Linked DNA regions of Homo sapiens: regions 1, 2, 4, 5 and 6 are each linked to region 3. Evidence: promoter capture Hi-C in human tissues and cell types (Jung and others, 2019). All regions are on one chromosome and are shown on one strand. The core of a region is centred on a gene start or on the middle of the fragment in contact, and the rest is flanking DNA. Distances in the headings are between cores, read along the strand shown. Region 1 overlaps SYNJ2 (synaptojanin 2). Region 2 has its middle 24 kb from the start of SYNJ2. Region 3 holds the start of TMEM242 (transmembrane protein 242). Region 4 overlaps SNX9 (sorting nexin 9). Region 5 overlaps SYNJ2 (synaptojanin 2). Region 6 overlaps SYNJ2 (synaptojanin 2).

Region 1 (3,918 bases), core at 1,176-3,675, 760 kb after region 3:
TTTTTAAATGCTCTGTGCATCATGCATTGAGGATAGAGTGGAGGCAGCAGAGGGAGCACCGTGGGCACCAGCACCTGTGCCCTGGGATTGCTGCAGAGGAAGACTCACCCTGCAGAATGTCTTTAAAGACAGAGGAGAGGATGGCATTTGAGGGTGTGAAGAAGGAAGAGTTTGATCTTCCCAAGGCTGCTGCCTAAACTCTCATGTCAGTTTCAACTTTTACAAGGAAAGAAATTAAGAAAAAGAAGGTAAGAACAGTTGGTCAACGAAAAAACCTTTTTTTTTTTTTTTTGAGACAGAGTCCTCCAGGCTGGAGTGCAGTGGCACAATCTTGGCTCATTGCAACCTCCACCCCCAGGGTATAAGTGATTTTCATGTCTCAGCCTCCCAAGTAGCTGGGATTACAGGCGTGCATCACCATGCCCGGCTGATTTTTGTATTTTTAGTAGAAACGGTTTTGCCATGTTAGCCAGGCTGGTCTCCAACTCCTGGCCTCCAGTGATGTGCCCGCCTCAGCCTCCCAAAGTACTGGGATTACAGCCACCATGCCCAGACTCTTTAGATAATTCTAAATTCTTTAGATACCTGTTGTTGCAAATACATACCTAGAAGTGAATCTTGAGGAATCTTCAGATATGTGACATCAAGGTTTGCTAGCTCAATGTATTTTGAAACCTTAATTTAACCAATATTTCTTGAGGGGCCCTTACATGCCAGGCCCTGTTGCTGGCCTGGAGAAAAGCAGTGAACAAAACAGATGAGACCATGTTATCATGGAATTTTCTGGACAGGACAAACAGACAATAAACAAACATGTGTGCTATGAAAGAAAAAAAGTAGTGGCAGGAGTCAGGCCAGAGTCGAGCTATTTTCAATCAGGCTGTGTAATTTTCGTAATATAGGATTTTCTGGAAATTTATAGAGTAATAACCATCCCTGTGTCAGAATTACTATAAGGATTGCATTATTTCCTGCTGGACTGTTTTCCTGTTTACATCATTGATTTTTACATTATTCCTAATGATTGCGTAGGGTATTATATGAAGGTATCATAACTGTTTCCCCATTAAGAAACAGAGCATTTTGGCCTGGCGCAGTGGCTCACGCCTTTATCCCAGCACTTTGGGAGGCTGAGGCAGGCGGATCACCTAAAGTCAGGAGTTCAAGACCAGCCTAGCCAACACAGCAAAACCCCATCTCTACCAAAAATACAAAAATTAGCTGGTCATGGTGGCATGCGCCTGTAATCCCAGCTACTTGGGAAGCTGAGGCAGGAGAATCACTTGAGCCCGGGAGGCGGAGGTTGCAGTGGGCTGAGATCGCGCCACTGCACTCCAGCCTGGACAACAGAGGGAGACTCTGACTCAAAATAAAAAAAAAAAAAAAAACGAGCATTTCCCTTTTTTTTTTTCCCTCCCATCAACAATGCTGTAAATGATCAACCTCATGCATTAAATCTTTGTCTGAATCCCTGGTCATTTCCTTAGAATAAAGTCCGAGAAGTGAGATTACTAGGTGAAAAGAGATGAACAATTTTGGAACTCTATGTAAAGTGCCAAGTAACCCTCTGAAAAGCTTGCACCCCTGGCAGAGTGCAGATGTCTGCTTCCCCACCTCCTTGGTGGTACTGAGGATTACCATGTCAAAAATCTTTGCTGATGGCTGGTTATTTTCCAAGTACTGGGATACATCTTTAAGGTGCCACACTTTATTTTCCCCCTCAAATCATCTTTAGATAAAAATGCCAAGGTGATACTAAGGTTAAGGAAAGATGAAGACTAAAACGCCAGAGCAGGGCAGCTAGCCTGCAAATCCACCTGCTGGTGGCCACATTCGCAGGTTGTTGGTGTTGACTGTTTACAAAGAGCCCTGGGGGACAGCAGCTGGGGACTGGGGGCTGGAGATGTGGACATCTGTCCCAGGCTAACTGGGGACTGGAGGCCGGGGGTGTGGACATCTGTCCCAGGCTAACTGTCATCCCTCTTTTGTTCCTAACGCAGACCTGTGCTGGCGATCGTGGAGGTGGAAGTTCAGGAAGTCGATGTGGGTGCTCGGGAGAGGGTTTTCCAGGAAGTGTCCTCCTTCCAGGGCCCCCTGGATGCCACTGTTGTAGTAAACCTTCAATCACCGACCTTAGAAGAGAAAAACGAGTTTCCAGAGGACCTGCGTACTGAGCTCATGCAGACCTTGGGGAGTTATGGGACAATTGTTCTTGTCAGGTAACTGCTCCCCTGGCTGATGTGGGTTCCAGGGGATGTCGATGAGGATCCGTGAGAGCTGCCAGGTCGTTCTTGGCATTGACTTGGAGTATCATTTATTCCAGGATCAACCAAGGGCAGATGCTGGTAACTTTTGCAGACAGTCACTCGGCTCTCAGTGTCCTGGACGTGGACGGTATGAAGGTACGCTGTACTTGGCCACACTGTGGAGTGGGGTCTGATCAATCCCTCTTTTTATGTGGGCATGTCTTCTTCCTCCTCTTGCCCTGACCTGTGCCTTTTTTTTTTTTTTTTTTTTTTTTTTTTTTCTCTGAGACAAAGTCTTGCTCTGTCATTCAGGCTGGAGTACAGTGATGCAATCACAGCTCGCTGCAGCCTTGAACTGCCAGGCTTAAGCAATCCTCCCATCTCAGCCTCTCAAGTAGCTGGGACCGCAGGCACGTGCCACCACACCCAGCTAATTTTTTTTAAATTTTGTAGAGAGAGGATCTCACTCTGTAGCCCCGGCTGGAGTGCATTGGGACAGTTATGGCTCACTATAACCTCAGCCTCCTGGGCTCCAGTCATCCTCCCGCCTCGATCTCCCAATGTGTTGAGATTACAGGCATGAGCTTTCATGCCTGGCCACCAATCTGTCTTTATGTATAGACGCCATATGCGGGAGGGAGTTTGGATTCTTCACTCTGGTTCTAAGGTGTCTCATGTCCGGCTCTAGCTACTTGCAAAATAGGGCGGAAGGGTGGGCGCAGTGGCTTATGCTTGTAATCCCAGCACTTTGTCAGGCCAAGGTGGGTAGATCACCCAAGGTCAGGAGATCGAGACCAGCCTGGCCAACATGGCGAAATCCTGTCTCTAGTAAAAATACAAAAATTAGCCAGGCGCTGGGTGTGGTGGCTTACGCCTGTAATCTCAGCACTTTGGGAGGCTGAGGCGGGCAAATCATGAGGTCAGGATTTCGAGACCAGCCTGGCCAACATAGTGAAACCCCGTCTCCACTAAAAATACAAAAATTAGCCAGGCATAGTGGCAGGTGCCTGTAATCCCAGCTACTTGGGAGGCTGAGGCAGGAGAATCACTTGAACCCAGGAGGCAGAGGTTGCAGTGAGCCGAGATCGCACCATTGCACTCCAGCCCAGGCAACAGTGTGAGACTCTGTCTCCAAAAAAAAAAAAAAAAAAAAAAAAAGTAGCCAGACATGGTGGCGCGTGCCTCTAGTCCCAGCTACTCAGGAGGCTGAGGCAGGAGAATCGCTTGAACCTGGGAGGCAGAGGTTACAGTGAGCTGAGATCGTGCCACTGCACTCCAGCCTGGGTGACAGCGAGACCCTGTCTCAAAAAACCAAACAAACAGAATGGGGAAGAAGAATGTCAGTCACTGTGTCTCACGTTGGAAGGCAGCTCTACCAGCAGCTGCAGAAGCTTAGCCATTTTAGAGTGTAGTTCTCGCCGAGTTACTTGATCTGTCTATGCTCGCACTGCCATGTGGGAGACTATTCCAGTCTTTCTCTTTAGAGTATGTATTTTGGAATATGCAGCTCATAGATAGTTTCCGTTTTTATAGTATCTTGGCTTTAAATCTGTACCAAATGGGAAGCTGGAGATGAGAGTTCAACTTTTTTTTTTTGAGATGGAGTCTTGCTCTGTCACCCAGGCTAGAGTGCAGTGGTGCAATCTCGGCTCACCGCAGCTTCCGCCTCCCG
Region 2 (3,721 bases), core at 419-2,918, 630 kb after region 3:
TTTACATTGCAGAGTTCCTGCCCTGCCACACATGCATGTGGAGGATAGTAGTGCAGTTGTACAACAGTGCCTTTGTACTGCTCTAATTTTTTTTTTTTTTCTGAGGCTGAGTCTCCCTCTGTCATCCAGGCTGGAACGTAATGGTGTGATCTTGACTCACTGCAACCTCCGCCTCCCGGGTTCAAGCAATTCTCCTGCCTCAGCCTCCCAAGCAGCTAGGATTACAGGGGCCCGCCACCATGCCTGGCTAATTTTTGTGTTCTTAGTAGAGACAGGGTGTCATCATGTTGGCCAGGCTGGTCTCAAACTTCTGACCTCAGGTGATCTGCTCACCTTGGCCTCCCAAAGTGCTAAGACTACAGGCATGAGCCACCACACCCGGCCTGTACCACTCTAATTTAGTGATTCAACTGAACCTCCTGACACGGGTGCCTCCTCGTGCCCCCTCTGAAACATGCGTGCACTTATCTATGTGCCATGCAAATGGAGTACGTGAGCACCCAGGGACCCTCGATAGATTACCTGGTGCCAAGCGTATTCTTCCCTGCCCCTGTCTTGGAAAAGCAGCCCTACGAATGACAGCCTCCTGACAACTGGTCAGTTTTCCAACAGGATGGTGACTCCCCTCCTTGCCTTCTGCTTTCTTGAATCAAGGGCCTGAAGAGGCCAAGCAAGGTGGCTGATGCCTGTAATCCCAGTGCTTTGGGAAGCCGAAGCAGGAGGATCACTTGAGGCCAGGAGCTTGAAACCAGCCTGGGCAACATAGCAAGATTCTGACTCTACGAAAACATTTAAAACTTCGCCAGGCATGGTGGCGCATGCCTGTAGTCCCAGCTACTTGGGAGGCTGAGGCAGGGGGAATGGCTCAAGCTTAGGGGTTCAAGGCTGCAGTGAGCTATGATTACACCACTGCACTCCAGGCTGGGTAGCAGAGTGAGACCCTGTCTCTAAAAAATAAAAAAAATTAATAAAAAAGAGCTGAAGAGACCAAGCAGCAGCCAGGGCTTAAAGCTTTGAGGGGCTCTTGTGCCTCTGGGTGGAAGCATTTCACTGTTATAGTCATTTCCATTATAGAGGGTAAAGTCTTCACTGTTTCCTTCCTACATACAATTTATTTATATTTGTTTGTTCCTGAACTGGAGTCGTAAAGCACCCAATTATTGTTAGACGGTTTATATTTAATGTGATTATCAACATGGCTGGGTTTAAATCCATTATCTTGCCATTGGTCTCTTATTTGTTCAATCTGTTCTTCATTCCTTTTTTTCCCTCTTTTGAATTGAGTACTTTTTATGATTTTATTTTACCTCCAATAAAACCTCCCTTTTCCCTCTTTGCTATATGTATTTAACTTATCATCGTCTATTTTTAAATAATAGTGCCACCTCATACACAGCTTATGAACCTTACAATATGTTACTTCCATTTTCCCCTCTTGTACCTTATTGTTGTCATATATTTTATTCTACATATACTATAAACTCAAAAATACACTGTTAATATTTTTGCTTTAAACAGTTAATTTTTTTTTTTTTTTGAGATGGAGTCTTGCTTTGTTGCCCAGGCTGGAGTGCAGTGGCGCAATCTCGGCTCACTGCAAGCTCCACCTCCCGGGTTCATGCCATTCTCCTGCCTCAGCCTCCCGAGTAGCTGGGACTACAGGTGCTCGCCACTACACCTGGCTAATGTTTTGTATTTTTTATTAGAGACGGGGTTTCACCGTGTTAGCCAGGATGGTCTCCATCTTGTCTCCATCTCCTGACCTTGTGATCCGCCCGCCTCGGCCTCCCAAAGTGCTGGGATTACAGGTATGAGCCACTGCGCCTGGCCACAGTTAATTATCTTTTAAAGAGTATTTTCAATTATAAAAAAGTCTTTTACATTTACTGATGTGTTTATCATTTCGAATCCTTGTGTACATCCAAATTTCCCTCTAGTGCCATTTTCCTTCTACCTGAGGAGTGTCCTGTAACATTTCTTGGAATGTAGGTTCCCTAGTTAATTAATTCTCTCAGTTTCTGTTTGTCTGAAAAGCTGATTTTGAAAGAAATTTTATGCAGGATAGAATTCTGGATTGATTGCTTTCTTTTTCTTTTCAGTACTTTTTTTGAGACAGGGTCTGGCTCTGGCACCCAAGCTGCAGTGCAGTGGTGTGATCATGGCTCACTGCAGCCTCAAGCTCCCGGGCTCAAGTAATTCTCTCACCTCAGCCTCCCAAGTAGCTAGGACCACAGGCCCATGCCACCACACCTGGCTAATCTTTTTTAAAATTATTTTTAGCAGACAAGAGGTCTTGCTATGTTGCCCAGGCTGGTCTCAAACTCCTGATCCTCCCGTCTCGGCCTCCCAAATTGCTGGGATTACAGGCGTGAGCCTCCACACCTGGCCTCCTTTCAGTACTTTAAGGATGTCACTCTATTGTCTCCTGGCTTGCATAGTTTCTGATGACAAATCTGCCATCACTCTTACCTTGCTCGTTTGTAAGCAATGGGTTTTTTTTTCCCTGACCTGCTTTTTTTTTTTTTTTTTGAGACGGAGTCTCGCTCTGTCACCCAGGCTGGAGTGCAGCAGTGCAATCTCCACTCACTGCAAGCTCTGCCTCCTGGGTTCACGCCATTCTCCTGCCTCAGCCTCCCAAGTAGCTGGGATTACAGGTGCCCACCACCACACCCGGCTAATTTTTTGTATTTTCAGTAGAGACAGGGTTTCACCACGTTAGCCAAGATGGTCTCAATCTCCAGACCTCATGATACGCCCACTTTGGCCTCCCAAAGTGCTGGGATTACAGGCGTGAGCCACTGTGCCTGGCCTTCCCTGACCTGCTTTAAAGATTTTCTCTTTGTCACTAGTTTCCGGCAATTTGATTATCATGTGCCTTAATATAGTTTTCTCCATGCACCTTCTGCTTTGGTTTGGTTAAGGTTCTTGGATCTATGGCTATAAAGTTTTCATTAAATGTGAAAAAATGTTGGCCCTATTTCTTCAAATATTCTTCCTTTCTCCCTCCTTTATTTCTGAAACTGCAGAGATATACATGTTAAACCACTTGATCTTGTCCACAGATCACTGGATTCTCTGTTAATTTGTTTTCTCAATGGGCTTCATTTTTGGACAGTTGCTATTGCTATGTCTTCAAGCTCACTGATGTCTTCTTCTGCAGCATCTCTCTGCTGTTAATCCCATGTCATGTATTTTTTATTCCAGATATTATATTTTTATCTCTAGTAAATTCCATTTGGATCTTTCTTATATTATTAATTTCTCTCCTCATTTATGTTTCTATTTTTCCCTACCTTCATGAATATATGGAATATATTTGTAATAATTGTTTTAAAGTCTTTGTCTGTTAATACCATCATGTATTTTATTTCTGGGTCTTTTCTGTTGATTGATATTTCTCTTGGTGATGTTCATATTTTCCTGTTTCTTTGCGTGCCTGGTAGTTTTTGGTTAGATGTTGGCATTGTAAAATTTTACATTGCTGGGTGCTGGATTTTGTTGTATTCTTTTAAATAGTGTTCAGCTTTTTTTCTGGCATGTAGTTCAGTAATTTGAAATCAATTTGATCCTTTCAAGGTTTGCTTTTAAATTTTATAGAGTGGGATCAGAGCAGTCTCTTTGGGTAGAACTAATTTTGTCTTCCTACCAAGTGGATCCTGCCAGATGCCCTGTATTAAGATATCTTCACACTCTGGCTGGTGATTATATGATCTATTTCCAG
Region 3 (3,581 bases), core at 202-2,701:
TTACGTAACACTTTTCCTCCATAGCACACATCAAATTGTAATTACACAGTTATTTGTGTGAATATTTATTTATTTATTTTTGAGACAGAGTCTCGCTCTGTCACCCAGGTTGAAGTGCAGTGGTGTTATCTGGGCTCACTACAACCTCAGCCTCCTGGGTTCAAGTGATTCTCCTGCCTCAGCCTCCCGAGTAGCTAGGACTACAGGAGTGCCACACCACACCTGGCTCATTTTTGTATTTTTAGTAGAGATGGGTTTTCGCCATGTTGGCCAGGCTGGTCTCAAACTCCTGACCTCAGGTGATCTGCCCCTCTCGGCTTCCCAAAGTGCTGGGATTACAGGCATGAACCACGATGCCTGGCCCAAATTTAGATTCAAAGTCATGTTGTGAATAGGAAATGTACCAGATAAGCTTTCAAAGTCTTGTTCCGCTAAAATTTAAGAAAGCACATAAGTACATCCTTCTAAATGAAAATAAAGACTTGGTTAATTTGTACATTTCTAGAATCCATGAGCGTATATAAATTCACATCTTAAAGCAATGTGAAAGACCATCAATATTTTATTTTTTCTACGCAAAAGCTGCCATATATTGTAAACAATAACAATGCTATGAATGGATTTCAGTGTCACCAACCTTATTGAACCATTCAGGGCTTTTCTTTTTAGCCAATGATAATGTTGTAATAAATCCAGCTAGCATTCCCGCTGCAGCAACGGTACCAAGGAAAATTCCACCTGCCAAGAGTTTCGGGGAGGAGGGGGGATATTAAAAAAAATTAAATAAAAAGAGGTTAAAAAGATGTACAAAAGTAAGTTTAAGATACTATTCGAGTTACAATCAAAATCACTTTTGAAATTCAAGAAACCATGGCTAAGCAGCTCTTGCTAACAGTAAATGACAGCGGCTGAGAAACACGCGTGACCGCACGACCTCTGGTTCCTTGGGTCATTCCGAATTATTATTCCCGAGCGCAGAGAAAAGGTTCAGCTTCCCTTCCCCTCTCCCCTGGGACCACAGCGTGAAGTTTCTCACGGGGAGGAGAAGAGACGATGGCAATCAGAAAAGGCAAGGCTCTAGAACAATTGCAGAGGTGACGGGGAAATATGGCACGCCCGGGAGAATAGCTCGCGGGATCTGCCCCCCGCCCCGCCCAAGGGGAGACTCCACCCAGTAAGCGACCTACCCTCCCTGGGCCGCCAGACTCCGCGGGCTAAACTCAGGGGCAAGCACAAGCTAAGGGCTCTCAGAGCGGGATGTGTGTGGGAATGCCCGCTCCAGAGCAAGCCAGGGTCCGGGGTTAACTCACCCCGACGCCCGCACCTCACCACAGCACATCTTACCTTTAACCAGGAAAAGCCGGTCATTCGTGGACCCCGGAGCCTCCAGCCCAGAGGCCGGCTGCCCAGTTGCAGCGCCCGCTGTCTCCATGTTTAGGTCGCCTCTAGTGCGTCCGTCCCCAACTGGGCCCGGGTGGAAGCGAGAACCAGGCGGAGGAGAAAGGTTCCGCTACCGCCTCCTCCTGTGCAATCTGAAGAAGGGTCCGGAGTGCGGCCGCTGTCCCCAAACCCTCCTCCCGCGCCGGGGCCGGGAAGACGTGCTGTGCCCAGCCCCAGGGGCGATGCCCTCCAAGGCCGTCTCTTAGGGAGGATCTTTTGATTTCTCCAAGGAGATCATTGCTGGACTTAAGTGATTACTTTGGCTGTTTGAAAGAACGCTCAGCCCCGACTGTAGGAGGCAGTGAGGGTCGCAGATTGCGCCAAGATTCCAGGCCCCGCCTGTGAGACCCTGGAGCTCATTTTCCTGATCAAGCTTACATTGTGTCCAACGATTTGGCCAGCGCTAACACTCCACGATTCTAAAACGCAAGCCTAGGTCTTCTGTCTGTACTTTTCTAGGTAACTTCCCAACAGTGTTGAGGAATAAGTGACAGGCTTTCTCCCTGGAGGAGAGCCAGCCACCCGGTTCTGCGGTGACGGGTACCTCCGCCGCGGTGTGAGTGCTCGGCCTCCGTCGGGAAGTGGAACACTCACAGGATGACCGAATGAAAGTACCACCCCCGAAAGGAGAGCGACGCCCGCTGGAAGCGCTTGCAGAGCTGCCGGCAACGTTGACCGCTAGCAAGCTTGGTCTTCCGCTGGGAGGCTGGTTTGCCCATTCTGTAAATGGCCGTGGAGAGGAGGAGGCTAGTGGTGATAGAAAATCTTTTCAGCCTCTCAGAGAACAATGACATCTTGTAAAATAAGGCGGTCTCTCTGCTATTTGTCCTGCCCCCCATCACCGGAGGGCATGAGTTTCCTGAGGATGGAGATGGGACTCTATGTTCAGTTTATATCCCCCAGCTTTCAGATATTAACTGGTTACCAACATCAAATGCATGTTGGATGAATGAGTAAATGAATGCATCCATTTTTGCGTCAGTGAAGTGCAGTTAATAGCTCAAACCTGGGCTCGGGTCCTAAACCGCTTCTCAGGTGTGTGAACTTGGGGTAACTTAGCCCCTCTATAGCTCAGTTTCCTCACCTGTAAAATTTAAAAACTGGTAGTAGGCCAGGCGCGGTGGTTCACGCCTGTAATCCCAGCACTTTGGGAGGCTGAGGCAGGTGGAGATCAGAAGTTCGAGATCAGCCTGGCCAACATGGTGAAACCCCGTTTCTACTAAAAATACAAAAATTAGCGGAGTCTAATGATGCGGGACTGTAATCCCAGCTACTCGGGAGGCTGAGGCAGGAGAATGGCTTGAACCTGGGAGGGAGAGGTTGCAGTGAGCCGAGATCGAGCCGTTGCACTCCAGCCTGGATGACAAGAGTGAAACTCTGCCATCCACCCCATCCCGCCCCCCCCACACACAAAAACTGATAGTACCTAACTCATAGGATTACTGTGAGAATTAAATGAAGCAACATCTATAAAGAAGTTAGCACAGTGCCTGGCACATATAAATATTCAATACATGTTAGCTCTAACTATTACCACCTTTGATTCCAGTAGCTATTTTGCAGCATTGCCTATGGGGATTTTTAAAAATGATGGATTATCAAGGTCTATCTACCACGGGAGATTAGAGCTCTGAAGGCCCGCGGGTGGCAGGGCAGAATGTAAAAGCTCCGTGGGGTTTCTGATGATAAAAAACTACTGCTCTGTTCAAATTTTTGTGTGGATGAGATCACACAGAATGTATGTGACCTTTGGATTTCCTGGAAACACGTCAGTATCTGAAAGGGCTTTTAAGCTGGTAAATGCTGTGCTAATTTGTTGAAGGACCTATCCTTTTTCCTTCCCCTCATACATAACAGTAACCATAGCTGCTAACATGTATTGAGTGCTTTCTATATATCTGACATTGCACTAAGTGCTTCAAGTACATTATCTCATTTATTCCTCTCCATAAACTCAGAAAGACTAACTTGCTCAAGCTCACACAGCTGTTAAGTGGCAGAGACAGGGCTTAAAAGCAGGTCCTTCCTTATCCACTGTGCCAGTCGTCCTCAAGTGTGAACTTGAATATTGGAATCACCTGGAAGGCTTATTGCACTCAGCTTGCTGGGCCCCATTCCCAGAGTCTGTGACTCAGTGGGGG
Region 4 (3,909 bases), core at 1,118-3,617, 620 kb after region 3:
GGAAAATCTCTGCAAAGGGCTGGTCTGTGATCTTAACAGTCCTGGCATGTGGCCATTTTAGCATTCTGCTTTATAACTTAAATATCATGAAGGGGTACCATAGGTAAATTAGGTTTGTACAACTTCAGATAACTTAATATAAAACTCAGAAAAATTAGCTTGCTGTCGAAATGTATGCCAGCAGCATCAGAGTTGTAGGCCTGGAGCCTAATTAATGCATGAGTATAGAGTTGTTCCTTCCAGACAGCGGTAAATAACGAGCAGCGTGATGACACTGGAGTGGGAAATGTTTGGCAGCTTTTCTAGCCGCTTCCATCTGAGTCTTTAAATGGATTCAGCGCCTCTTAAAAAATCAAAGGAAAGCCCAGGACTTAGAATCAGCACACTTAGGCACTAGCTTATAAAATATTCTGTTGTATAAAAAAAGAGAGAGAGTGCCTGTGTGCACATGCTGCCCTGTACCTAGCCACATGACTTCCAAAACCTGCTAATGCCTGATTTCCATTACGTGCTACTCCTCAAATGGCAGCGGCTTCTGAATATTACAGAGATGGTGTGCTGTTTGCTTTTCTCTTTTGTTGTAGCATAAAACTGTTCATTTTAGCTTAGTGACATTTGTCAAGAATAGCAACCTTTTTGCTTCCAAGGGACTTGAAGGAAGTTAAATTTAGATGCTTTCCTCTCTTCTTATTTTGTGGAGGTATTTCCTGTTCAGTAGCAAATCAGTTATAGAATATATTAGCATTGTTATATTTTAAACTAATGACTAATCATTTCAGCTTTATTCATACTGTTGCATTTTATATTTCACAGGGAGCAATAGAAAAAGTGAAAGAAAGTGACAAACTAGTTGCAACAAGTAAAATCACCCTACAAGACAAACAGAACATGGTGAAGAGAGTCAGCATCATGTCTTACGCGTTGCAAGGTAAGATGAAAGGGTCCTTATGAGGTGCTGGTGGAAGTTTTTTTTTCCCCAGCAAAGTTTCCCTTGATAGAGAGAAATCCAGATGTGAGCAGCAGTTAAGTAAGTGAGACCTTTTAAGCCCCTCGTTTGCAGGATCCCGGTGCTGATGAAAATCTGTAATATTTATTTAATTTTTCACCTGTCCACCTTATCTGGCTATAGATGACAGCTTGATTAAAACTGTACATTTTATTATTTCTGAGAGACATTTAAGATTCCTTTTGTAATCTGTGGTATCATAATGCTCTATTAAATGCCAGAGCCCAGCTTTTAGCAGTCTGTAACCTGCGTGCCTTGGGATCATGGAATGTGAAGGGGTTTGGGTGTGTCATTTTAGGCACAATTTTTTTGTGTCAAGAAAAAAAAAAGATGAATTTCTATAGGTTTGAGTGTTTTTGAGCAGATGAGGGCAGCAAGTGGATTTTTCCTGTTGGCGGATGGGTGGATGGCACTTGGATGGGCAGAGAATGGAGAGCGTGTTCTGTTAGGAACAAAAGCCACAAAATTGTGGTGCTAGATTGTGTCATGGGCATGAAAGAGTAAAACATACTTAGAGGTTATTGGGAAATAAATTTTGATTGTGAAGGAACTTGAAAGCTCTAGACTTGATGCAGGCATTAAGAAGCCATTAAAAGGGAGTAAAAAAAAATCAATCCTCAAGGGAGAAGGATTTGCTGGTTATGGAGGGGAGATTGGAAGATGCAGACACTGTCCAAGAGCCCAGCCAGAAGACCATCTCACTGTTGTAGTCTGAGCTTTGAGGGCCTAAAGATGTGGTACTGGGGAGAAGAGAATGAAGCACATTTGCAGGCTTTTCCAAGGAACAGCTTTCAAGACTGGGGCATTCATGGGAGAAAGAGAAGGATGAGGGAGGTGTCCAGAGCCAGGCCACTACGGCAAAAACGAGGAACCCTGATTGAAGTTTCGGGTTTTGAAGGGTTTGAAATGGGGAGTTTGGTTTTGAACTTGTGTTTGAGGTTATCCAAATTGAGAAATACAAAGCTTTGTATAACTTCAAGTAACTGAATGTAAAATGTAGAACAGTTTGCATGTCATGGGAATCTGTGCAGCCGCTGGCTTTCTCAGCCTGGAGGGTTTGGGAGAAGGCGGCATAGGAGGCATCCGAGGGAGGCAATGAGGTCCTCTGATGACGAAGACTCCTCTAGAGTTGGGGGCAGGGGCAGGGGGGACAGAGAAAGAAGGAATCCATGTATTCAGCAAACATGAAGAAAGTTGTCCCTCAGCATCCAGTCCTCCTGCCCTGTGAGAGGTTGAGTTCTGACAGCGTCGCTGGTGCTCAGGGGCAGCAAGGCTTCCCGTACTGAAGAAGGGTCTCCCGCTGTCCCACACGCTGCCCAGCCTTTCACCAGAAACCTGCTGAAGCAATTGCTGTGCAGGAGGGAGCGGGGCAGGGACCCCAGCTGCCTGCTAGGTCCAGTGCAGACACACCAGAGGCTTTGAACTGCAGTCATCTGTAACAAATATGACCAAGTATTTTCTATTTGATCGATTCTGTTAGAGTAATAGGCTGCATTTGGGTGATTTATCTGTATTGGATTTTATAGTTTTGAATATGCAAGACAGTGAAAGTCATTCATTTACTGGAAAGTAATGTTTGTCATTAGCTTGTTTTGTTTTGTTTGTTTTGTTTGAGACAGTCTCGCTCTGTCACCCAGGCTGGAGTACAGTGGTGCAATCCCGGCTCACTGCAACCTCCATCTCCTGAGTTCAAGCAATTCTCCTGCCTCGGCCTCCCAAGTAGCTGGGATTACAGGCACCTGTTGCCATGCCCGGCTAATTTTTGTATTCTTAGTAGAGATGGGGTTTTGCCATGCTGGCCAGGCTGGTCTTGAACTCCTGACCTCAGGTGATCCACCCACCTCACCTCCCAGAGTGCTGGGATTACAGGTGTGAGCCACTGCGCCCAGCTCAACTTGTTTTTCTAACCTCTTAGTAAAGTGATTTACCAAGAACTGACAACAGCAGCCAACCAGATTAGGTCAGGTTGATGATTAATTGTAACTGAGCAGAGAAACCAGGTGTTGTCATTTGAAAACTTGAGGGAAAACTGATTGATGTTCTGATTTGGGTTGTAGCTGAGATGAATCACTTTCACAGTAACCGGATCTATGATTACAACAGTGTCATCCGCCTGTACCTGGAGCAGCAAGTGCAATTTTACGAAACGGTGAGTGGGCGTCCACGTGCCTTTCGCATGTGCTTGAGGAGAGGGTTCCTGGTAAACCACTTTGACCATGTAAAGTTAATCTGTTTGTATTCTTTAATCCTAAGTAATAAACCAAAGGAGCCTAAATTTTGGACAGGATTTTTTTAATCTCCTAATTCCATCTGCCCTTTGCTTTTTGGATAACACTGGGTTAAAAAAGATTTTCTTCTGAAGCAGGGGTCTTGGATGCTAGTTGCAAGGCCCCAAGAAGTTCCTTATTGTGCAGCTCCTTCCCCCCGTCACAGCCTCTCTGTGCCTCTGTGCACCAGGAACGGTGCTGAATGAGATGAGGTCACCCAGCCGTCCCTGGGACTCCGTTGGCAGCTGGAACAGGAGCCTGGCACCACACAGGAAACCAAAGGCAGCCTTTGCTTTTTGTGAATGAGGTTTTCACAGTGCGCCATGGAAATCGCAGAGAGAAAACCAAAAAAGCGAGATGTGGGATGGTTTTATTCACAAAACAATAACGAAAACTTAAATTTTTCTTACCTCTGCTTAGTAATTTTGTTGTTTACCAGAGTCTATAGAAAACAAAAATCTAGTAGCATGTCTCCCTCAGACACCTGCAGGTAAGGTCTGTAATGTAGAATCCAGCCTCCGCTGGCGGCCTTGCTGCCTACCCAGCTCCCCTCTGGCCATGGGATCTAAGCCATGTTCATGGGGAGTGGTGAGCAAGCCCTCTGCTCAGCCATACTGGTGGCATCTGCGAGCTGGA
Region 5 (3,857 bases), core at 761-3,260, 670 kb after region 3:
CACCCTTAAAACATAAAGCAAGTTATGTTCAGACTATATACAGGCAATGAGAAAATATGATGAAATATGACTGCGTATGAATAGCCCCAGACTTCTAGGGCCTTTGAGTGTGTCTGTCTTGGGCAACATCTTCTCCTTTTAGATTTCAGGCTCAGTTTACTGTCAGGAAAATTAAGTTGCTGAGAGCGTCTCAGAATTTTGGCTTAAAAGAGAATATACACCTGGAACAAAGACTTGAGGGGTGCTCCTATTAAAAAAAACAAACAGTGTGTGAGCTTCAAAGGAGCACCTTGAAACTCCAGTTCCATCACATCCACTCTGCTGGGCCCTCCTAGGGCAGCTCTCTGTCTTGTGCCTGCCTTCTCTTCTGAACACTCCTAAGGTATTTTGAGTGCGGAGGATAGGATCATACACTCAGGAAAGCCGAGAGCTAGATCCTGAAGCATCTGTGCGGGAAATGCCCATCTGTGCCTGAAATGAGCATCTGCGAGTGAAGTGATCCCATGTCTGGGATCTGTTTGGCATGCGCCAGGAGACAGACGGACACATGCATGCACACACACACACAGCGGGGACGGGGAGTTGGTGAAATAAGAGTGGGAAAATGTTGACACCTCCGTGAGCCGGGTGACAAGCTGCTTGGTGGTTCACTAGACAGGGAGTTATAAATTGGCCGCTTTTCAACATCGACAGATAAAAATCAATAGCCTTCCCATAATGCCATCATTAATCAATTAGAGTCTGTAATGGGAAAAGCAGATGCCACTCCCCCACAGTTTCTGGGAATAAACAAAGTGTATAAGGCCTAAAAGAAGAAAGCTATAGAACTTGACTGAAGCCCACATCTGTGGAAAGGCATACTATGTTCTTGGAGTGGGAACATCAACACTATAGAGATGGCAGTTCCTCTCCAGTTAATCTGGAAGTGCAAGTATCGATGAGTAAATCCAATTAAATTCCAACAAGAGCCTGGTCTAAAATGTAACAGGCTGATTTTACAGTATCGCTGGACTCCCCCTACATCCAAACTTATTCTTACCTTCATTCTCCCATTTTGGTTAATGGCAGCACCATCCAGGCAACTGCTGGTAATAAAAGCCTGTGAGTCATTCTGACGCCCCTTCCTTCCTCAGCCTCATCCAACCTACCAGCCAGTAGTGAATCCCACCCCAAAACAGATGGTGAATCCCACCGAGTCCCCCGGTCATCGCTGCTACATCGAGAGTGCAGCCACTGCCCCATGTGCTTTCCTGGTCTGCTTGGCAGCCTTTGAACTAGTCTCCTGGCTCTTCCCCTGCTCCCCGTATAGGGATCTGCTTGAAGCTCACACAGCCCTGATCCTCTGCCCCTGCCTCTTTCTCCACCCTCATCTCCCACCATTTCCTGGGCTCACTGCATTCAGCAGCCTGACTTGTTCCTGCTCAGAATCTTCACACCCACCTGCATGCACTCCCTCCCCCAGGTGATATGGTTTGGATCTATGTCCCCACCCGAAGTCATGTTGAAATGTGATCCCCAGTGCTGGAGATGGGGCCCAGTGGGAGGTGATTGGGCCATGGTGGTGGTTTCTCATGAATGGTCAGCACCATCCCCCCTGGGGTTATCATTGAAACAGTGAGTTGCCACAAGATCTGATTGTTTAAAAGTGTGTGGCACCCACCCCACCCTCTTGGTCCTGCTCCTGCCATGTAAGTTGCCTATTCCCACTTTGCCTTCCACCATGAGTAAAAGCTCCCCGAGGCCTCCCAAGAAGCAGATGCTGCCATGCTTCCCGTATAGCCTACAGATCCATGAGCCAATTAAATCTCTTTTCTTTATAAATTACCCAGTCTCAGGCATTTCTTTATAGCAGTGCGAGAACAGACTAGTACACCAAGGGTTGGCCTGGCTGCTGCTGCCTCCGTCTCCCCACCTACCCCACCCCCCCCCACCCAGCTTCGTGACTGCAGTAAGACCTTCCTGACCTCTGTGGCTGGAATACCCTGCAGCCCCCACACACCAACTGTCTCTGCCCCATGCCTGGTTTCCTTTCTTCTTGGCGCTTATCACTGAAATTACCTTATGTGTGTGCTTACGTGGGTGTCTTCTGTTGTCCACTGCAAAAATGCATTGTGGGTTGAATTGTGTGCCCCAGAAAAATACATTGCTGTCCTAACCCGGGATACCTTGCAATCTTATTTGGAAATAGGGTCTTTGCAGATGCAATGAAGATGTAAGTTAAGATGGGATCGTACTGGTATAGGGTGGGCCTTTAATCCAATGTGACTGGCGTGCTTATAAGAAGAAAAGGGACACAGGCAGACGCACGCAGAGGGGAGAATGTCATGTGAAGGCATACAGGGAAGACAGCCATATGACAATGGAGGCAGAGATGGGAGTGACACTGCCGCAAGACAAGGAATGCCTGGGCTACCGGAAGCTGGGAAAAGCAAGGGAAGATGCTCCTACCCACGCCTTGATCTTGGATTTCTGGCCTCCAGAACTGTGAGACAATAAATTTGCTGTTGTTTCAAGCCCCCCGTTCTGTGGTTCTTTGTTACAGCAACCCAGGCAACTAATACAGGGGCATTGTGTATCTCGTTCAGTACCTTACCTTAACACTGCCTCGTGTGGAAATGAGGCTTGGCAAACACTGTTGAATGACGAAGCATTGGCAAAAAAAATAGCCAAGATTTTGAAAAGGATCCACAAAGGCAGACTGATTTACCAGGTAGCACAACATATTATAAAGCCCTAACCATCGTGGAGGCTGTCAGCACAAATCAACACAGTAGAGTGGAAGGCTCAGAACAGACTTGTGTGAGCAGTGTTACTTTGTTTCTTATAAAGGTGATGACTTCAGTCGGTCAGAGAAAGGTAAGGGTGGATACTCAGCACCTGCTGTTGGTGTGGTTGATCAGTGCAGTGCCTAAGAGGCCCCTGCTCTATTCAACTGGATATTCACGCAGGCATTCTTGGCCGGTCTGCTCAGAGAGGAATAGGCTGGAAACCTTGGCTGGCCAGCAGGATGCTGCCTGCTGCTCTGCTTCCAGGGGAGCGAGGGGTCTTCCTGGCAGTTTTTGCAGGTGGCTGCACACACAGGTGTCCTTCTGGTCACTAGCTCCTCCCCCAGCTGAAAGCCCTGGGTCCCCAAGGAGCCAGAATCCCTTATAAAATTACCAGCCTTACAGAGCCCTGGGTTCACACAGGGGACATTCCATGTTACAAGAGTTACCACACCTAAGGAAGCCCCATGCCTGGCTTCTTCACCGAGTGGTTATAATTCACTTATGGGTCTTCCCTGTCCAGAGGCAATTTGCCAATCAAGGTCATTTTTACCATGAGCAATGTTGTCTAGTAACAGAGTTGACGTTCCATCTTGATTGGGGTTCCCAGGGAACCAGAGCTAGATAATTAAACATTAAATTCTCATACAGAAGGGAAGAAAGATTTTGCTAAGCCTGTGACCAAAACTATCCATATGGACACTAAGTGAGAGTCCTATGTTTTATCATACATTAAAATAAATGCAGAGGTATTTAAGTGTAAAAAAACAACTTTCAAAGTATTAGAAAATATAGGCTATGCTTTCACAGTGTTACGGCATGGAAAGATGTTCTAAGGAAAGCATCAAACTCAGAAGTCATAAAGGAAATAAACCTGACAGATATGGGAAATATTTTTATTGAAGTGTAACATACATAGAGAAAAATGAACACTCGAAGCGTTGAGCTCCATGAATCTTCACCCGGTGAACACACCCACATAGCCAGCACGCAGATCTGGAGAGAGAACGTTTGCATCCCAGGCCCCTGCCTCCCATTCCCCCTGTGTCCGAATGATAGATTTGACTACATAAAAATGGAAAACTCCAATAT
Region 6 (3,747 bases), core at 327-2,826, 700 kb after region 3:
GCCCCTTGCGGTGGGCGGGAGGATGGAGTCCGCGCCTGTACAGCTCCCCTGCCTCCACTGCGCTCACCAGATACCGGCTCTCCTCACTCCCCTGTACCACTCCCGACCCCCTCCTCCCTGGACCCAGGAGCCCCAGTGCTCTGTGGCAATGTTAAGAGCCTCTCCTGGCTGCTACAGTGCTCCTCTCCCCAGCCTCCCCCAGGCCGTGGTCCTGCCCAGGAAATGCACCTGGGACTGTTGCCAGGCACTCAGGCCCCCCACACGGAGGCTGTTGAGGAAGTGGTGCTAGAAATCAGCTCATGACTCTCACGGAGTGATGTCATGCAAAATTTTCCATAGCTCTGGCAGCCACAGGGGCCATCCTCCTGCCTCTCCGAGGGCACTTCTGCTGAACTGTGCTTTTCCCTGCACTGTGTCAGAAGAGGCAGGTGGGTGCCGGGAGCGCTCTGTGGCCAAGGCTCTGATCACAAGCTGCCAACCCCGGAACCCCACCTATCCTACTTGAGAAGCTGAACTCTGACCCCTGTCCCTGTCCCCAGTGTGATAACTTCCTTTGTTCTTAGGTGGTTTTGAGGTGGTTTCCTGAGGATGTGTCTGGGGAGATGTGATGGGATCAACCCCCTGCCCTGCTGGCAGCCCCACCCCATGGCATAGCAGCAGGCCCCTGGGAGCCCTGAGCGCTCATTAAAGGAACGCACTTTAATGACAGCCACACGCCACCCTGCCACAAGCAGCGCTCTTCTCCCTATGAAGTGTGGTGAGGAAATTGGGGTGAGAGGGTGGTGGAACTGGTTGTTTTGGGGGTCTCTTCCTGGAGTGTGGAGAGATCAGAACCATCTCCAGACCATGGCTGTAGACAGCGGCCCTTGATCATTCACAGAAGATCTCGCTGGGCGGATCCTTCAGACCTCAGCGGGGTGGGAAGAGTGTCCTTGGGACTAGAGCCCTGCCAGACCCCAAAGGCCGGTTTCTACCCGATGATCTCTTGGGCCCCGTCCCGAGAGTGAGGCACGGCGCCACCAGGCACCCCCGATACGCAGCGTGTTGTGAAGTGCCCTTGTGAGCAGCGGGGGATAGGGAACAGAAAACCAGCTGTCAGCGACAGCGAGGTGGTGCCCCAGAGAGGGCTGCCTCATTCGCCTGGCTGCAGGGTCCGAGGTCGTCTTGGTAGCATTTGGCAGGAATTTATTTAGGAAGCATTCAGCAAACCGAGTGTGTGTGGTGCTGGGAGATGACGACGAAATGGCCCTGCCCCCAAGGAAGCCCCTCCCCTGGGGGCACAGGTGGGGAGGGAGGTCATGAGCTTTGTGTGTGTGACAACTGCTGATGGGAATGCTATTGGCACGTACGAGGGGTGCCTGTCCGTGTCTTGGGAGAGCAAGGAAGGCTTCCCGGAGGAGTTGCTGCCAAGTTGGCCCAGAAGGATGAGGAGGAGTTCTTCTGGTGAAGTGGGGAGGGCAGAGGCAGGATGGTCCCTACGGAGCATGTGGGGACGCTCGTGTTCTTCCAGAGGATGGAATGCTGGGCCCGAAGCCTGAAGTATTGTTAGGGTAGAGACAGGCGGGAGGTGCGTGGAGAAGGGGTCATGGAGGTCTTGTTGGGCAGATGGCGGTGGGACGTCCCAGGCAGGGGGAGCATCTTGGGCAAGAGCCCAGGGTGCGAGGTCATGCTTATGGCACATTGGACCAGCTGGAGGACAGCCAGCTCAGGAGAGCAGCCGGCTGGGGTGTCTGCCCACGTGTGGGGCAGGGATGGGCTGCAGCGGGGAGGGATTTGGGAGCTTCTGTCGTAGTCCTGCAGGGAGTGGGAGCTGTGCAAGAAGGAAGGGCGGAGCGGCTGTGATCCAATGACTTTGGGAAGGCCACTCCTGTGATGGAGTGGGGGAAGACAGACCCCAGGCCAGGGGTCCTGAGTCAAGGCAGTGGCTGAGGAGGCACTGGGGAAGGTGATTTGGAGAGGCTTTGGGGGTAGGTCCTGGGGGTCTGGAAGGGCTCTAGGCCAGGAATTTTCAGACTCCTGGGGGCATCAGAATCACCTGGAGGGCTTGTTAAAGCAAAGCTTGCCCCCAGCCTCAGGCAGCTGGGCGGCAGGAATCTGCATGTCTAACAGGCTCCCAGGGGATGCTGACTTGCTGGCCAGGGTCCCACACTTTGAGAAGCCCCGCCTGAAGCTTACAGGACAGGGCAGGTTCTTGAGCCATTGAGTTGGGCAATGCCATGGGAAGTTGCAGGTGCACAGACGTTGCCTTCCTGGCTGCGGTTGAACCTGGGCTCCATTTGTCCCCTTGGAGCTCCAGGCGGCCGGGCCGACTTCGACCCTGAGCTCTCCTGTCTGATTTCCTTTCCAGGTGGCACGTCTCTGAGCTTCCTGGTGTTGGTGACAGGCTGCACATCTGTGGGCAGAATTCCAGATGCTGAAATCTACAAAATCACTGCCACTGACTTTTACCCTCTTCAGGAAGAGGCCAAGGAGGAGGAACGCCTCATAGCTTTGAAGAAAATCCTCAGCTCGGGGGTGTTCTATTTCTCATGGCCAAACGATGGGTCTCGCTTTGACCTGACTGTCCGCACGCAGAAGCAGGGGGATGACAGCTCTGAATGGGGGAACTCCTTCTTCTGGTGAGGCCCTGGGTCCCCTGCAGAGGGTGGGCCCTGGGTCTCCTGCAGAGGGTGGGCCCTGGTTGGCATCTGAGGCCTTGACCTCCACTTGCACCACCCCCGGGTTATGGGGCACCTCTGGAGAGTTAGGACCCAGGCCTGCTCTCAGCACAATGAGAGGAAAACTAACCCTGAACTCCCTGCCACCCCCCACCCCTGGCCCCTGGAATGTGTTCAGTGTAGATTTGGAAAAGAAACCTGCGCCAGGCATGGTGCCTCATGCCTGTAATCCCAGCACTTTGGGAGGCTGAGGCAGGTGGATCACTTGAGTTAAGGAGTTTGAGACAAGCCTGGCCAACATGGTGAAAGCCCATCTCTACTAAAAATACAAAAAAAAAAAAAAAAAAAAATTAGCTGGGCGTGGTGGCAGGTGCCTGTAATCCCAGCTACTCGGGAGGCTGAGGCAGGAGAATCGCTTAAACCCAGGAAACGGAGGTTGCTGTGAGCCAAGATGGTGCTACTACACTCCACCCTGGGTGACAGAGCAAGACTCTGTCTCAAAGAAAAAGAAAGAAAGAAAAGAAACCCTGTTCCATAAGTAAAAAACATAAGAGCCGACGTCTGCTGAGTGCTTCCTCAGTCCCGGGTGCCGAGCTCAGTGCTTCTGCCTGGATTCACTCTTTCAGTCTTCTCAATCATGGTTACCTCCAGTGTGCAGCCGTTTACCGCTGATGTTTATAAAGCACTGTGTTCGGGTCACCGTGCTAAGATCTCTCTGCTGGTAATAACTCATCATTATTATAAAAACCTTTATAATAATTATGCGGAGGCTCTGTTACCCCATTTTACAGGTAGAGAGACTGAGGCACGAATAGTCGAGGGAATTTTGCCAAACTCCACACACTTACTAAGTGGCAGAGCCAGGATTTGAACCCAGGCTTTCTGGGTCCAGGTCCCAAGCTGGTAATCACAGTGCTAAACCAGTCCCATCAATGGGGAAGCTGAGTCACCCTGCCCAAAGGGACTTGTAGCAATGCACTAAGACTAGTCCCGGAGCCCAGGCAGAGGCGGCTGGATTTCTGTATGTTTAAGATCTCCTGGTGCTTTTTCACTCCACAGCAGGACAGAGACAAGAGTGGACAACCCTGTA

The links. The method cuts DNA at HindIII sites, captures the fragments that hold promoters and counts their contacts. A contact is called where the count stands out against the background at its distance.
Region 1: a fragment that was not itself captured here is called in contact with the fragment with the promoter of TMEM242 in region 3 in 1 of the 25 tissues and cell types used here (dorsolateral prefrontal cortex).
Region 2: a fragment that was not itself captured here is called in contact with the fragment with the promoter of TMEM242 in region 3 in 1 of the 25 tissues and cell types used here (dorsolateral prefrontal cortex).
Region 4: a contact is called between a fragment that was not itself captured here and the fragment with the promoter of TMEM242 in region 3, in 1 of the 25 tissues and cell types used here (dorsolateral prefrontal cortex).
Region 5: a contact is called between a fragment that was not itself captured here and the fragment with the promoter of TMEM242 in region 3, in 1 of the 25 tissues and cell types used here (dorsolateral prefrontal cortex).
Region 6: a contact is called between a fragment that was not itself captured here and the fragment with the promoter of TMEM242 in region 3, in 1 of the 25 tissues and cell types used here (dorsolateral prefrontal cortex).

The regions. Positions count from the first base shown.
Region 1 is chr6:158,079,109-158,083,026 of GRCh38, forward strand. SYNJ2 (synaptojanin 2) reads left to right here. Exons shown (of 27, transcript NM_003898.4): 19 at 2,001-2,219; 20 at 2,324-2,402. Among named protein-coding and RNA genes, the nearest start is that of SYNJ2-IT1, 80 kb to the left of the region's middle. The HindIII fragment of the contact is 5,446 bases long and covers 1-3,918 here.
Region 2 is chr6:157,955,804-157,959,524 of GRCh38, forward strand. No RefSeq gene overlaps it. Among named protein-coding and RNA genes, the nearest start is that of SYNJ2, 24 kb to the right of the region's middle. The HindIII fragment of the contact is 3,731 bases long and covers 1-3,534 here.
Region 3 is chr6:157,322,068-157,325,648 of GRCh38, forward strand. TMEM242 (transmembrane protein 242) reads right to left here and starts at 1,452. Exons shown (of 4, transcript NM_018452.6): 1 at 1,345-1,452; 2 at 638-738. The coding sequence starts at 1,432. It overlaps TMEM242-DT (TMEM242 divergent transcript), which reads left to right and starts at 1,567. Exons shown (of 1, transcript NR_187268.1): 1 at 1,567-2,410. RefSeq lists enhancers at 1,215-1,554, 1,735-2,164. The HindIII fragment of the contact is 1,828 bases long and covers 142-1,969 here.
Region 4 is chr6:157,937,820-157,941,728 of GRCh38, forward strand. SNX9 (sorting nexin 9) reads left to right here. Exons shown (of 18, transcript NM_016224.5): 16 at 814-928; 17 at 3,064-3,155. Among named protein-coding and RNA genes, the nearest start is that of SYNJ2, 42 kb to the right of the region's middle. The HindIII fragment of the contact is 9,940 bases long and covers 1-3,909 here.
Region 5 is chr6:157,995,108-157,998,964 of GRCh38, forward strand. All of the region lies in intron 1 of SYNJ2 (synaptojanin 2), which reads left to right. Among named protein-coding and RNA genes, the nearest start is that of SYNJ2-IT1, 4.1 kb to the right of the region's middle. The HindIII fragment of the contact is 8,824 bases long and covers 1-3,857 here.
Region 6 is chr6:158,026,409-158,030,155 of GRCh38, forward strand. SYNJ2 (synaptojanin 2) reads left to right here. Exons shown (of 27, transcript NM_003898.4): 3 at 2,348-2,618. Among named protein-coding and RNA genes, the nearest start is that of SYNJ2-IT1, 27 kb to the left of the region's middle. RefSeq lists enhancers at 1-348, 349-1,036, 554-623. The HindIII fragment of the contact is 3,760 bases long and covers 1-3,456 here.